Regions from separate parts of the Homo sapiens genome. Here regions 1 and 2 are each linked to region 3. The links are contacts of gene promoters, found by promoter capture Hi-C in blood cells and fetal thymus (Javierre and others, 2016). All regions are on one chromosome and are shown on one strand. The core of a region is centred on a gene start or on the middle of the fragment in contact, and the rest is flanking DNA. Distances in the headings are between cores, read along the strand shown. Region 1 holds the start of C1QL2 (complement C1q like 2). Region 2 has its middle 170 kb from the start of THORLNC. Region 3 holds the start of EN1 (engrailed homeobox 1).

Region 1 (3,483 bases), core at 720-3,219, 310 kb after region 3:
GCCTCGCACCCCCCGCGCCCCTAATCCGGGTACAGAAGAAAGCCCGAGAACGTGCTGTACTTGTTATTATTGCCTCCGTGAGCCTTCCCGCCATCCAGCTTCACATACACTTCGTCCCCTGAATCCAAGTGCAGCACCACGCTGTTACTGGCGTAGTCGTAGTTCTGGTCGGCGTCCTGTGCAATGGCGCTGGCCCGGACCTGGGGACAAGCGGTGGGAGCAGGTGAGCCGGGGCACCTCTTCCCGCGCCTTTGCTCAGCCCACACCAGGCGCGCCACTCACGGGCCTCCCGCCTGCTGCTTCAGGGTCCACACTCCCACCCCAGCTCCATGTTCTCTCTCCAACTTAGTCAACTCCTTCCAGGTCCCCCCTCCTCCTCGCGCCGACGAGTCTGGGAAATAGGGAGAGGGGAAGCTTCATGAACACTGACCCAGAGTGGAAGGGTGGGAGCCAGGGGCCAGGGCCAAGAGGAAAGGAGGCTGCAGGGCAAGGGGGCGACCTGGAGAGAACTAAAGAACTGAGGTTTCCGAGAAGCCCACGGAGAGGCAGGCAGGGACGCAAGTGGCCAAGGAGTGTAGTTTAGGTATGGGGGTCTCTGGGCTCTCAAGGCCCAACATTTGGCTCTACGTCCCGGTGAGCGCGGCCTCGGCGCATCGGGAAGCGGAGATACTGTGGCACCGAGGCGCGTTCATTCCCGGGGCTCGCAGGGTAGCCCGCGGGTGGAGAGAAAGGAGGCTGGTTCCCTGGGAGGTTCAGGGCGCGGGCGAGGGTTTACGGGGGCCGGTGAGTGTAGGGGTCACTGACCTGCCCGTTCTTGCAGAGGTCCGCCCACATGCTGGTGCCGTCGCCGCCGCGCATGAGGATGTGGTAGGTGAAGAAGTAGATGCCGCGTACCTGGCAGCTGAACTTGCCCGTGGTGGGGTCATAGTGATTGCCGAGGTTGGTGACCACGTCATCGAACTTCAGCACCTCATAGCCTTCGTGGGGGCTCTTGAGACCCACATAGAAGGCGATCTTGGGGCCGCTGAAGGTGGCGCTCAGCGCACTGGTCACTTCACCCTCGGAATCGCCACCTACCCCGGCCCCGCCGCCCACCACCCCGACGCCGCTGGCCGTGCCCGCCGTCAGTTGCAGCCCTGGCAGCCCGGGCCGCCCCGAGTCGCCCTTCTCTCCCGGAGGGCCCCTGGGTCCAGGCGGGCCCGGCTCTCCAGGGGGCCCCCGCGGCCCTGGCTTGCCCGGTCGCCCCGGGTCGCCCTTGGGTCCCTGGATGAAAGGAGGAGGAGGGTTGGCGCTGAGGTCCTGCATGACTTCCAGGGCGGCGGTGCTGGGTCCGGGTGGCTGCGCCTTTGCACCCGGGGGCTCCCCGCCGGGCGCGGCAGTGTAAGGGTCGCAGATCATGCGGCAGGTGCCCATCATCTCATAGTGCGCGGCGCCTCGGGGCGCCGCCTGCAGCAGCAGCGGCACGGCGATGAGCAGCCCGAGCGCCATGGCCAAGAGTACGCCGACGGCCGCCAGGCAGGCACGCCGCCGCCGCTGCCACAGCCGGGAGGCGACCGCCACCAGCTCCTCCTTGCCGCCCGGGGAGGTAATGGTGGGGCGGCGCGGGCGGCCCCGCTCCCCGCGCTCGGGGACCGGCTCCGCGGGTCCTGGCCGCGCCCCCGACGTGGCGACCCCCAGCCCCGGCTACCCAACTACTTCAGCGAGAGGCGCCGGGACCTCTGAGCCTGGGCCCACCGCGCTGGGGCTGGTCGGGAGAGCCGCGGACGCCCGCGCGCATGACGTGGGGCACACAAGACGAATCCGGCGCCCCGAGGGTCCGGCGCCGGCCAGGGAGTGCTTGCGCTGGCCGGGGAGTCTGCTTGCGGCGTCCGGCGCTGGCTCCGCGGCGCTGCCTCCCGCCAGGCTCCGCTCCGCTGGGTTTAGTGGGGCTCCTAGCGCAGTGAGGGCGCCCCGGCTCCGCGGCGCGCTCTGCTGTGCTCTCTCGCTGTTCGCTGGCTCCCGCGCGGAGGGGGGACCCCGCTACCCTGACGTAAGGAGTCCGGGGCTGAGCGGCGGAGGCGGCGAAGCAGCGCGCGCTGCCATCACTCGGGAGACGGAGCCCTCATGTCATCAGCCTCCTATCTGGCGGCGTCCTCGGCAGAGGCGGTGAAGGCGCGGTTCCCCCTGGCGGCTCCCAGGAGCCACAAGTGGGCGCAGCGGGCGCGGTCCCAAGCCGGGGCACATCGGACACACCCACCCGCGGCCACACTCACGCGCCCCCCACCGATAACACACACAGACACCCACGCACGCAGTGGCGGGGCACGCACAGCCACCCCCACATGGCCACGAAAGCAGCTGGAATCCAGGTGTCAGCAGGGCTCCTCTGGGGTCACCTAATCCATCCCCTGGCCTGCAAAGAGGATCAAACCTCAACCCACCGAGTCCAGGAGAGTCCCGTGAGGTCCAGCGGGAAGGAGTTTCTGAAAGACCTCCTGAGTTATTTCTTCAGAATTGAATAGATCTCGCTTCTGGAAGATCTTTCGCAAACCTAGACTAAGGACTCCAGACTCTTAAACAGGCTCCCGTAGAGCACCCCACTAACCTCTGAGGTGACTCTAAAAAGCCCAAGGCTCCCAATACAAGAATATTTGCGGCCGGGCGCAGTGGCTCACGCCTGTGATCCCAACACTTTGGGAGGCCGAAGCGGGCAGATCACCTGAGGTTGGGAGTTTGAGACCAGCCTGACCAACATGATGAAACCCCGTCTGTACTAAAAACACAAAATTAACTGGGCATGGTGGTGCATGCCCGTAATCCCAGCTACGCGGAAGGCTGAGGCAGGAGAGTCGCTTGAACCAGAGAGGCAGAGGTTGCGGTGAGGCGGGATCGTGCCATTGCACTCCAGCCTGGGCAACAAAAGCAAAAGTCCATCTCAAAAAAAAAAAAAAAAAAAAGGAATATTCGCCTCAGACCTTTTCTTCCACCAGAAAATGGCTGGCCCTTGTCCTCTGCGTGAAGCTGGTGTAGAAACCAAATGCTTGATGCCGGCACTTGGCAGTGATCATGGTGCACTCAGCTTCTACTCCAAGCCCGGCCACTGCCAGGCAGATGCATGGGCACATTCCCTTGGACATCCCCAGCTTCCTCCTCCTGAGATGGGTTTAGTTATTTTAGAAAATAGTCCAAATAGTCCAAAGCCATTCTGAGCCAGTCTTGAATAAACCATGGCCTCAGATGAGAGCAGAATAGTCTATCTCCAATGTAGCATGTGAGGCTAAGGAAGGATGAGAGGCCCGCCGGTGTGGGAGAGACTTCCAGCGGAGAAATCAAAGCCCCAGCTTCTGCTCTTGCCCTGAGTAGCTGTGTGATTTTGCCAGGTGGTTCCTGTCCCTGAGACTCAGTTTCCTTAAAAGGCCGCCTCCTGCCCTAGCACCCCCAACATGGGAATCACACCAGGCCTGTCCTGGGGGGAGAATCTAAGGGCTGGTGTCAGTGTTTGGT
Region 2 (3,717 bases), core at 670-3,169, 490 kb before region 3:
ATAGTTGCCATTGACTGCATAGGCATGAACTTGGTTATTACTACTCATATTATCATCACTTCAGTTAAGTGCACCCTTGGCATTATATTTGTAGAGTTTAATTGTCATTTTAAATATATTTTAAAAGATTACACTCTGACTTGACATTGATGCAAAAAGTTACAGTAAAGGCAGAAGGCACAGAAACAAAGTGGTGGGAGAAAATTGTTATCTGTAGAGCAAATACTCATAACTGTGAAATTGCCTTAATTCCACATTTTCTTGCAAAATAAAGACCAAACTACTTGGTCCTTTGAAAGGAAGGGATCCCCAAACAAATGAAGCTGTGGAAAATTCTGTCTCTGAGATATTTGCAAAAACATTGTCTAAAATAGGCCAAGTAGTGCAACCCAAGGCAAGAAGAATTGCCACATCTCTCTAAAGGAAATTCAGTGCAACAAAGGAATGATGTGACTGGTTCATGCTGCCTCTCATTCAACCAAGAAAAGATCAGCATGAAAACTTGAAGAATGCATGTTAGCAGCATGAAGAAAAATTCCAGATAGAATAGTGGAATTCTCTTTTAAGAAATGCTGCCTCAGGCCGGGTGCGGTGGCTCATGTCTGTAATCCCAGCACTTTAGGAGGCCAAGGCAGGTGGATCACCTGAGGTCAGGAGTTCAAGACCAGCCTGGCCAATGCAGTGAAACCGGTCTCTACTAAAAATACAAAAATTAGCTGGGTGTGGTGGCAGGTGCCTGTAATTCCAGCTACTTGGGAGGCTGAAGCAGGAGAATCGCTTGAACCTGGGAGGCAGAGGTTGCAGTGAGCCGAGATCACGCCATTGCACTCCAGCCTGGGCAACAGGAGCGAAACTCCGTCTAAAAAAAAAAAAATACTGCCTCATCAATGCACCTGATGGTATAGAGGATGATATTGTGAGATAAACATAAATGTTGACTCTGAAATCAGACTGTGAATACGAAGGAATTTTGAAAATGCCTTGAATAATTTATTATAGTTTTTTCTGTTTGTAAAATAGTGATAGTTGATAAAAAATATGGCTAGTTATGTCTAAAAGATCTCTTCCAATAAGCTTATAAAATAAACAACAATAAGAGATAAAAATTGTGTCATCATTGTGTATAAATAAACTTATATCCTATATTTGATGTAATAGACATGATTATTTTTATTAGGTTGTGTTTTATCCTTTCACTGAAACTTGACTGGTTTTGTGACTAGCTTTGAAAGATAGAATGTAGAAGAAATGCTGATTTCAGTCCTAGTTCTTAAAGACCTGGAAGAAGCTGGGCATGATGGCTCACATCTGTAATCCCAGCACTTTGGGAGGCTGAGGTGGGCGGATCACGAGGTCAGGAGTTCGAGACCAGCCTGACCAACATGGTGAAACCCCATCTCCACTAAAAATAAAAAAAAATTAGCCGGGCATGGTGGCGCATGCCTGTAATCCCAGCTACTCAGGAGGCTGAGGCAGGAGAATTGCTTGAACCCGGGAGGTGGAGGTTGCAGTGAGCCGAGATCACACCATTGCACTCCAGTCTGGGCCATAGAGCGAGACTCCATCTCAAAGGAAAAAAACAAAAAAACCTGGAAGCTTCTTACTTTTTCTCTTTTGGAATGCAGACACCATGTTACAAAAATGCTAATTTAGACTACTGGAAAAGAGAGGCCACAGAGGAGAGGAATGGCACCCAGGTGATTGCCAGCATCAAATGCCAGACATGAGAGACAGGCCTAATTTGTTGTTCCAGTCAAGTTGAGTGCAGCTGTATGGGTAAACTCAGCTCACACCAGGAGGAACAGAACCACCCAGCTGAGCCTAGCCAACCCACAGAATTATGAACAACACTAAAACATCATTGTTTCAAGAAACTAAGTTTTAAATATACTTTGTGCAACAACACATAATTAAAACAGGGGTTTGTCCTAAAGGGATGTGTTGTCATCACAAAAATCTCAAACCTGTGGTACTGGCTTTGGGACAGAATGTCAGGAGGGGGCCATGAAGGCAGCAAGGAGATGGTGGAAAAACAGCAAAAGAAGGCAGTTTATAAATGCTAGAAAAAATGGTGAACATTTAGTGCAGGGATTGAACAGTGGAGAAAAGAGCAGACAGTGTTATGTAGTGTCAGAGTAATTAGCAAGACTGCCATCTGGGGTAACTTGGAAAAAGAAAAATTACCTAGTAAACTTGTGGATCTGGCTAAGAATACTTCCAAGCAAACTGCTAAAAATATTATCAAGCTTCTTTTAAAAGCATATAATGAAGTGTTGCAAGAGAAAATTGAACGAAAACTGAACTGTTTGGTTTTTAAGCAGAATTTAGAAGAAATATAGAAAATTCAGGTCAGTTTTTCCAGATGGCAGAAAAAAAAATCCTAAGAATAAATAATCTCATGGAAAATAACAAATATACAGTATTGTCAGTAAAAGTAGCCTCAGGGTTAAAATGAAATAAGAGTGTGGCTGAAAGACTCATTGTTTAGACCTCAGAAAGATTTAAAGTGGTACTTGGTGGACCATTCAGCTAAACAAAAAAAGCTTTTAAGAATCTTAAGGTAAATTCTCTCAGCAGAAACATAAGTCTCATAATGAATTTGGAAGTGGCTTTGAGGCATGGGATAAACTCAGTCAGATTCATAGAAAATCCACAGAGTCTTTAAGAGGATCATATTAGTAAAAATATCACCAGCACGGGCTAAAGGGGACAGTGAAATTTGTAATAAAAAGAAGCAGGCTAAAAGAACTATTCTGCTATAAATATGGGCCATTTCTTATAAGGATGCAGCTAAGCCCAGAGTAATTAGGGAATTGATCACAGGGAACAGAACTGGTACTAATCAAAGGATATGCCCTGCTTTGAGTTGGGGAACTGACATATGCCCAGTGGATTTCAAAATTATTAGGCAGAAACTGCTATGTACCCTTCATATATATAATTGTGGTAAAATGCATATAAAATTTACCATTTAGCAATTTTTAACTGTACAATTCAGTGGCATTAAGTATGTTCACACTGTTGTGCAACCATCATCACTATCCATCTCCAGAGCTTTCTTACCCCAAATTGAAACTCTGCACCCACCAAATGATAACTCTCCATGTCCCCTTTCCCCCAACCCCTTATAACCATGATTCTACTTTCTGTCTCTATGAACTTGACTGTTCTAGGTACCTCATATAACTGGAATCATACTATATTTGTCCTTTTGTGTCAGGCTTATTTCACTTAGTGTGATGTTGTGAATGTCCATTCATCTTGCTATATGTAACAGAATTTATTCTTTTTTAATGCTGGATATTATTCCATTGTATGTACATACTATGTTTTGTTTATTCTTTGGTCTATTATTGGGCATTTTGGTTATTTCCACTTCTGGATGTTGAATAATGTTTTTATAAACATTGGTGTACATCTATTTGAGTTCTTGCTTTACAATTATTTTGGTTATCTATCTAGAAGTGGAATTGGTGAATTGTATGTTAATTTCATGTTTAATTTGTTGAGAAACTGCCATACTATTTTCCACAGCAGCCACAAAATTTTACTTCCCCACCACCAATGCACAAGGGTTTCAATTTCTCTACTTTCTCACCAACACTTGATTTCTGTGTCTGTTTTTGTTTTAATAATAGCCATCCTAATGAAGTAGTATCTCATTGTGCTTTTGGTTGGCATTTCCCTAATGATGAGTGATGTTGAAGATCTTTTTAT
Region 3 (3,910 bases), core at 713-3,212:
CCTTTCCCTGGTTTCTACCCACCCGGGTCAGACTCTTTTCGCTACCCAGCCGGGGGAGAGGGACGGCTTTCAGACGCTTTCCTCCCTGTCTTCCTGTGTTTCCCATGTTTATCAATGTAAACGGTCTCTCCGCAGAAAATATCGAGATGGTGTTTGTGTCTGTAAGGACACACAGTGAATATAATTTTTCTGAACAAGGCCTTCTCTGGTCAAATCTGGCCTTCGGACGATCAGGCTGGTGGGATTTCAGACACACATCACTAGGCCCACCTTCCTGCCTTATCTAAACACCCTGGAAAGAAAATCACTGACTATGTACTTTTCCTAAGAATAATAAAGATAAGAGACAAAGAAGGCCCCAGGGATTCAGAGTTCAAAATCAAAGAATCGAGACCCGAGCCTCCTGTGCCACGAGCTGTAGCTTCTCGGGTGGTGGCCGCAGAGGCCAGGATCGCATAGCTGGATGAACATTCGGTTGTGACTGGAACTGGGGTGAGGAAGCAGGCGTGAGAGACTGGAGTACCCGAGGCCGGGTTTGCTCTCCCTAGCGCCGCAGCTTGGCGTTCTGGGGCGGTCCGCGGGGCCAGAAGGCATGGCGCAGCCCGGAGTTGGGTACTCACCGGAGGATGGACGATCCGAATAACGTGTGCAGTACACCCAGGCGGGCCATACGAGAGGCTGCTGCGAGTCAGTTTTGACCACGGGCCCGCCGTTGGCTGAGCCCATAAGTAGGATAGCCGGGTTGCCGTGCTCCGGGTATTTGGTGCCCTGCGCTCCGGGGCTCCCCGCGCCGCCTCCACTGCCGCCGCCACCGGTGTCCGAGGGCTTGGCTGCTGCGGCCGCCGCCGCCGCCGCCACTGCCGCCGCGGCCGCCGCCGCCGCCGCAGCCGGGTTCCCAGCTTTAGACGCGCCCGCGCCGGCGGCGGCTGGCTGGGAGCCGTCGGGTGGGCCACAGTTCGCGTCCGGGGCGCACAGGAGCGAGGCAGCGCCTGGCGCCCGGGTGCCCAACGGGTGGACAGGGTCTCTACCTGCGGCAGTCTGGCCTCTGTCACGCTCGACCCGGCCTCCTCCTCCTGCGCCTCCTCTGGCCGCCGCAGCCACCAGAAGCTGCGGTGGCGGCTGCTCCTTTTTGCAGCCGAAGTCCGGCCTCAGGATGTTGTCGATGAAAAAGTTGGTGGTGCGGTGCAGCTGGGCCGCTGGCTGCGGCTGGTGAGCAGGCGCCGCGAGATGCTGAGGCGGCGGGGGCGGGGGGTGTGGGGGGAGGTGCGGGTGGTGGGCCAGGGGCGGCAGGCAAGGCGCCGCGGGCGGCGAGGGGGGCGCAGGCTGCGGGGACACCGGCACGCTGTCTCCATCGCTGCCGCTGCCGCTGCTGCCGCTGGCGCCCGGACTGAGGCTCAGGCTGAGGCCGCCCGGAGTCGCCGCCGCCGCCGCGCCGAGGGCCGAGTCGCGCTGACTTTTAGGTTCCGGCTGCTGTTCTTCCATGCTCGGCCGCCCCGCCGCCCCGGCCGCCGCGCCGGCCCCCGCCCCCACCGCCTCGCTCCCCACCCCACTTTGCCAGCGGCCCGTGGGGGTGCGCGGAGGAAGGAGGCAGGCGAAGCCTCAGCGAAGGCACGGGGCGGGTGCAGGAAAAAAGCTCAGGCGTCTGGCCTGGATCGCTCGTTCTTATCTAGCAGATAGATCTCGCTGTCTCTCCCTCTCTAATTTGTAGACATCCAGATATGGAGACACTTGGCTATTTCTTTTTTCTTTCTGCAACCAGATTCAATGATTTGATTTAAATGGGGAGTAAGCCACGGCCAAAAAAATGAAGGAAAAAAAGAAAAAGAAAAGGAAAAAGAAAGCAAGAAAAAAAGCTCCAATAATTTTTTTCTTAAAGGGAAAAAAATAGTATTTAAAGTCTAGCCATCTTCCTAGGCAGTAGTGAGGGGTTTGACTTCCCCGAGTGTCACGCTCAGCTGTGCCCAGAGCGTGAGGCTGGCAGCGCCTTTAATCGCCTTTGCTTTTTTTGCAGGGAGAGCGCGTCTCCGCCAGCGCCGGGCTGTTTTTTTTTTTTTTTTTTTTTTTTTTTTTTTCAAATCTCTGACAGCTCGGATCTTTGCACAAACTCTCTCGCTTAAAAAAAAAATCACCCAGGCACACTTTTTGCCTTCAAACCGGAAGCACGTGAGTCAGGGCCGCACGTGTGCGGAGCCAATGGCGAGCCGGGACTCGCGCTGACACTCGGGCCTCGGCCCAATGGGCGCGCGCGGGACTTTGCGGATAAATAATCCGGGGGCGTCAACCGCTGGCGGAGAGGGGGCGCCTCGGCGCTGGCCCTGTGCGTCGGGTCCGCCCTCCCCCACCCGCGCCCGCACCCGCGTCCCTCCCCCTCCTTCAGGCCGGGACTCAGGAGGGGGCAGAAGAAACCCGGGAGGGGTGAATTTTGGGATGTAGGCAAATGGAGAAGCAACTCCATAAACAACTTGTTAGAGAAATGCAGGATTATGGGTCTGTGAGCTACGGGAGCAGGGGCAGTAGGCAGGAGCCTGGCTGTTTTGCACCCCCACGCCTAAGAAACTCAGCTTTTTATTTTCTCCTCTGTCTCTGGTTGCTGTTATTGAAGGATGGGTGGTTGTTGTCACTGCCGGTTTGTGTGTTTGTGGGTGGGTGTGGGTTTGGGTGTGTGTAGTGGAGGGAGGGGGAGTGAGACAGGGAGGTCGGTGATGTGAAATAGACCTAGAGTTGGTTACTTTCAGAGGCGCAATTTGTTTTTCACAAATAGCAAAATCTGAAAGGCCCGCTGCGCCTAGCTAGCGTCGCACGTTTACGTTTGTACGTCTCCTGCCGGCCCGCTGCATTGCTTTCCCTTTGTGGGGAATCCGCACCCATGCCCTTCCCGGTCCAGACTTTCGACAACACCCTGGAGCTGCCCTGGCGCCATAGAGCCAAGCCCAGAGGGCTAGGAATAGCCCCAGAGCCAGTTGCCTGGACCTTCCCTGGCAGTGGGAGTCCGGGCAACGCAGATTAATCTCAGGAGGGCCCCGGGGCCGGCGAGTCAGAACGCGGATGCGCGCTAGGCCCTAGCTTTTAGAGTTCAGGGTAACCTCTGTGTTAGATTTCCCTGCAAAGTAAAATCAAATAAATGAAAGCGCTGCACCCCAAGTATTTGCCCTGGCTAGCTGAAGTTGTGAACAGGGAGTTTCCCTCAATTGCCGGGTGACTGAATTTCCTGGGATTGCTCCCAACTCCCTGGGTGCCTCCGGCTCCAGCTCTGTGCGTTCTTCCCTAGTTTGAGGGAAATGCCGTTCCTCCAGCTGCTATCATTCTCCCGTCTGCCGATCTCTTTTTCGCTATTTCCTGGTCGAGGCACCCCCAAAATTTTCTCATAACCGGGAATGTGAGGGACGGGGGTGGCGTGTGGACTGAAGCTCTAGGCACCTGCGGGACTTGTCTCCGGATTCGTTTTGGAGGACCAGTATCCGACTATGCTGAAGCCTGCGGTGGCCGAGAAAGGCGTCAGCAAACGAGGCCTTCGGGGGTGTCATCTTAGAGCTCCAGCGGACCTCCTCGCCCTGAACGCCCTCCGCAACTGGGACAGTAGAGAAAGGATCCCTTTGGAAATATTGTCTATTTGTGACATGCGAAAGAATCCCCCTACCTCCAGTTTTCCAGAAAAGTCACAGAGGGTTAGGCTAGGAGGAACATGCAACTAAACCCACAACAAGCCGAACCACCACCACAGTAGCTGAAGTTTCTCAAAAGGGCTGGTGGAGAGCAGGAATTTATATTGCTCACCGCATCTTGGGAGCAGGCGAGGGTCCCCCGATTTCCGGGGCTGAGTTCCCGGCTAGACTTGCGCTGCAGCCTAGGGGAGAAAACCTCTCTCCCTAACGCTGCGCTGCAGTCTTCTCTACCTTCCCAAGCCGCCTCC

What was found. Contacts are between HindIII fragments. The CHiCAGO score rates a contact against its expected background, and 5 or more counts as called.
Region 1: the fragment with the promoter of C1QL2 here is called in contact with the fragment with the promoter of EN1 in region 3 in 1 of 17 cell types (monocytes); the score reaches 8.0 in monocytes.
Region 2: a contact is called between a fragment that was not itself captured here and the fragment with the promoter of EN1 in region 3, in 1 of 17 cell types (endothelial precursors). The highest score is 5.1, in endothelial precursors.

The regions. Positions count from the first base shown.
Region 1 is chr2:119,156,782-119,160,264 of GRCh38, forward strand. It overlaps C1QL2 (complement C1q like 2), which reads right to left and starts at 1,970. Exons shown (of 2, transcript NM_182528.4): 1 at 805-1,970; 2 at 1-200. The coding sequence starts at 1,488. The coding sequence ends at 21. RefSeq lists an enhancer at 338-1,148. The HindIII fragment of the contact is 3,837 bases long and covers 413-3,483 here.
Region 2 is chr2:118,354,091-118,357,807 of GRCh38, forward strand. No RefSeq gene overlaps it. Among named protein-coding and RNA genes, the nearest start is that of THORLNC, 170 kb to the left of the region's middle. The HindIII fragment of the contact is 650 bases long and covers 1,595-2,244 here.
Region 3 is chr2:118,845,686-118,849,595 of GRCh38, forward strand. It overlaps EN1 (engrailed homeobox 1), which reads right to left and starts at 1,963. Exons shown (of 2, transcript NM_001426.4): 1 at 621-1,963. The coding sequence starts at 1,482. RefSeq lists an enhancer at 1-281. The HindIII fragment of the contact is 11,695 bases long and covers 1-3,910 here.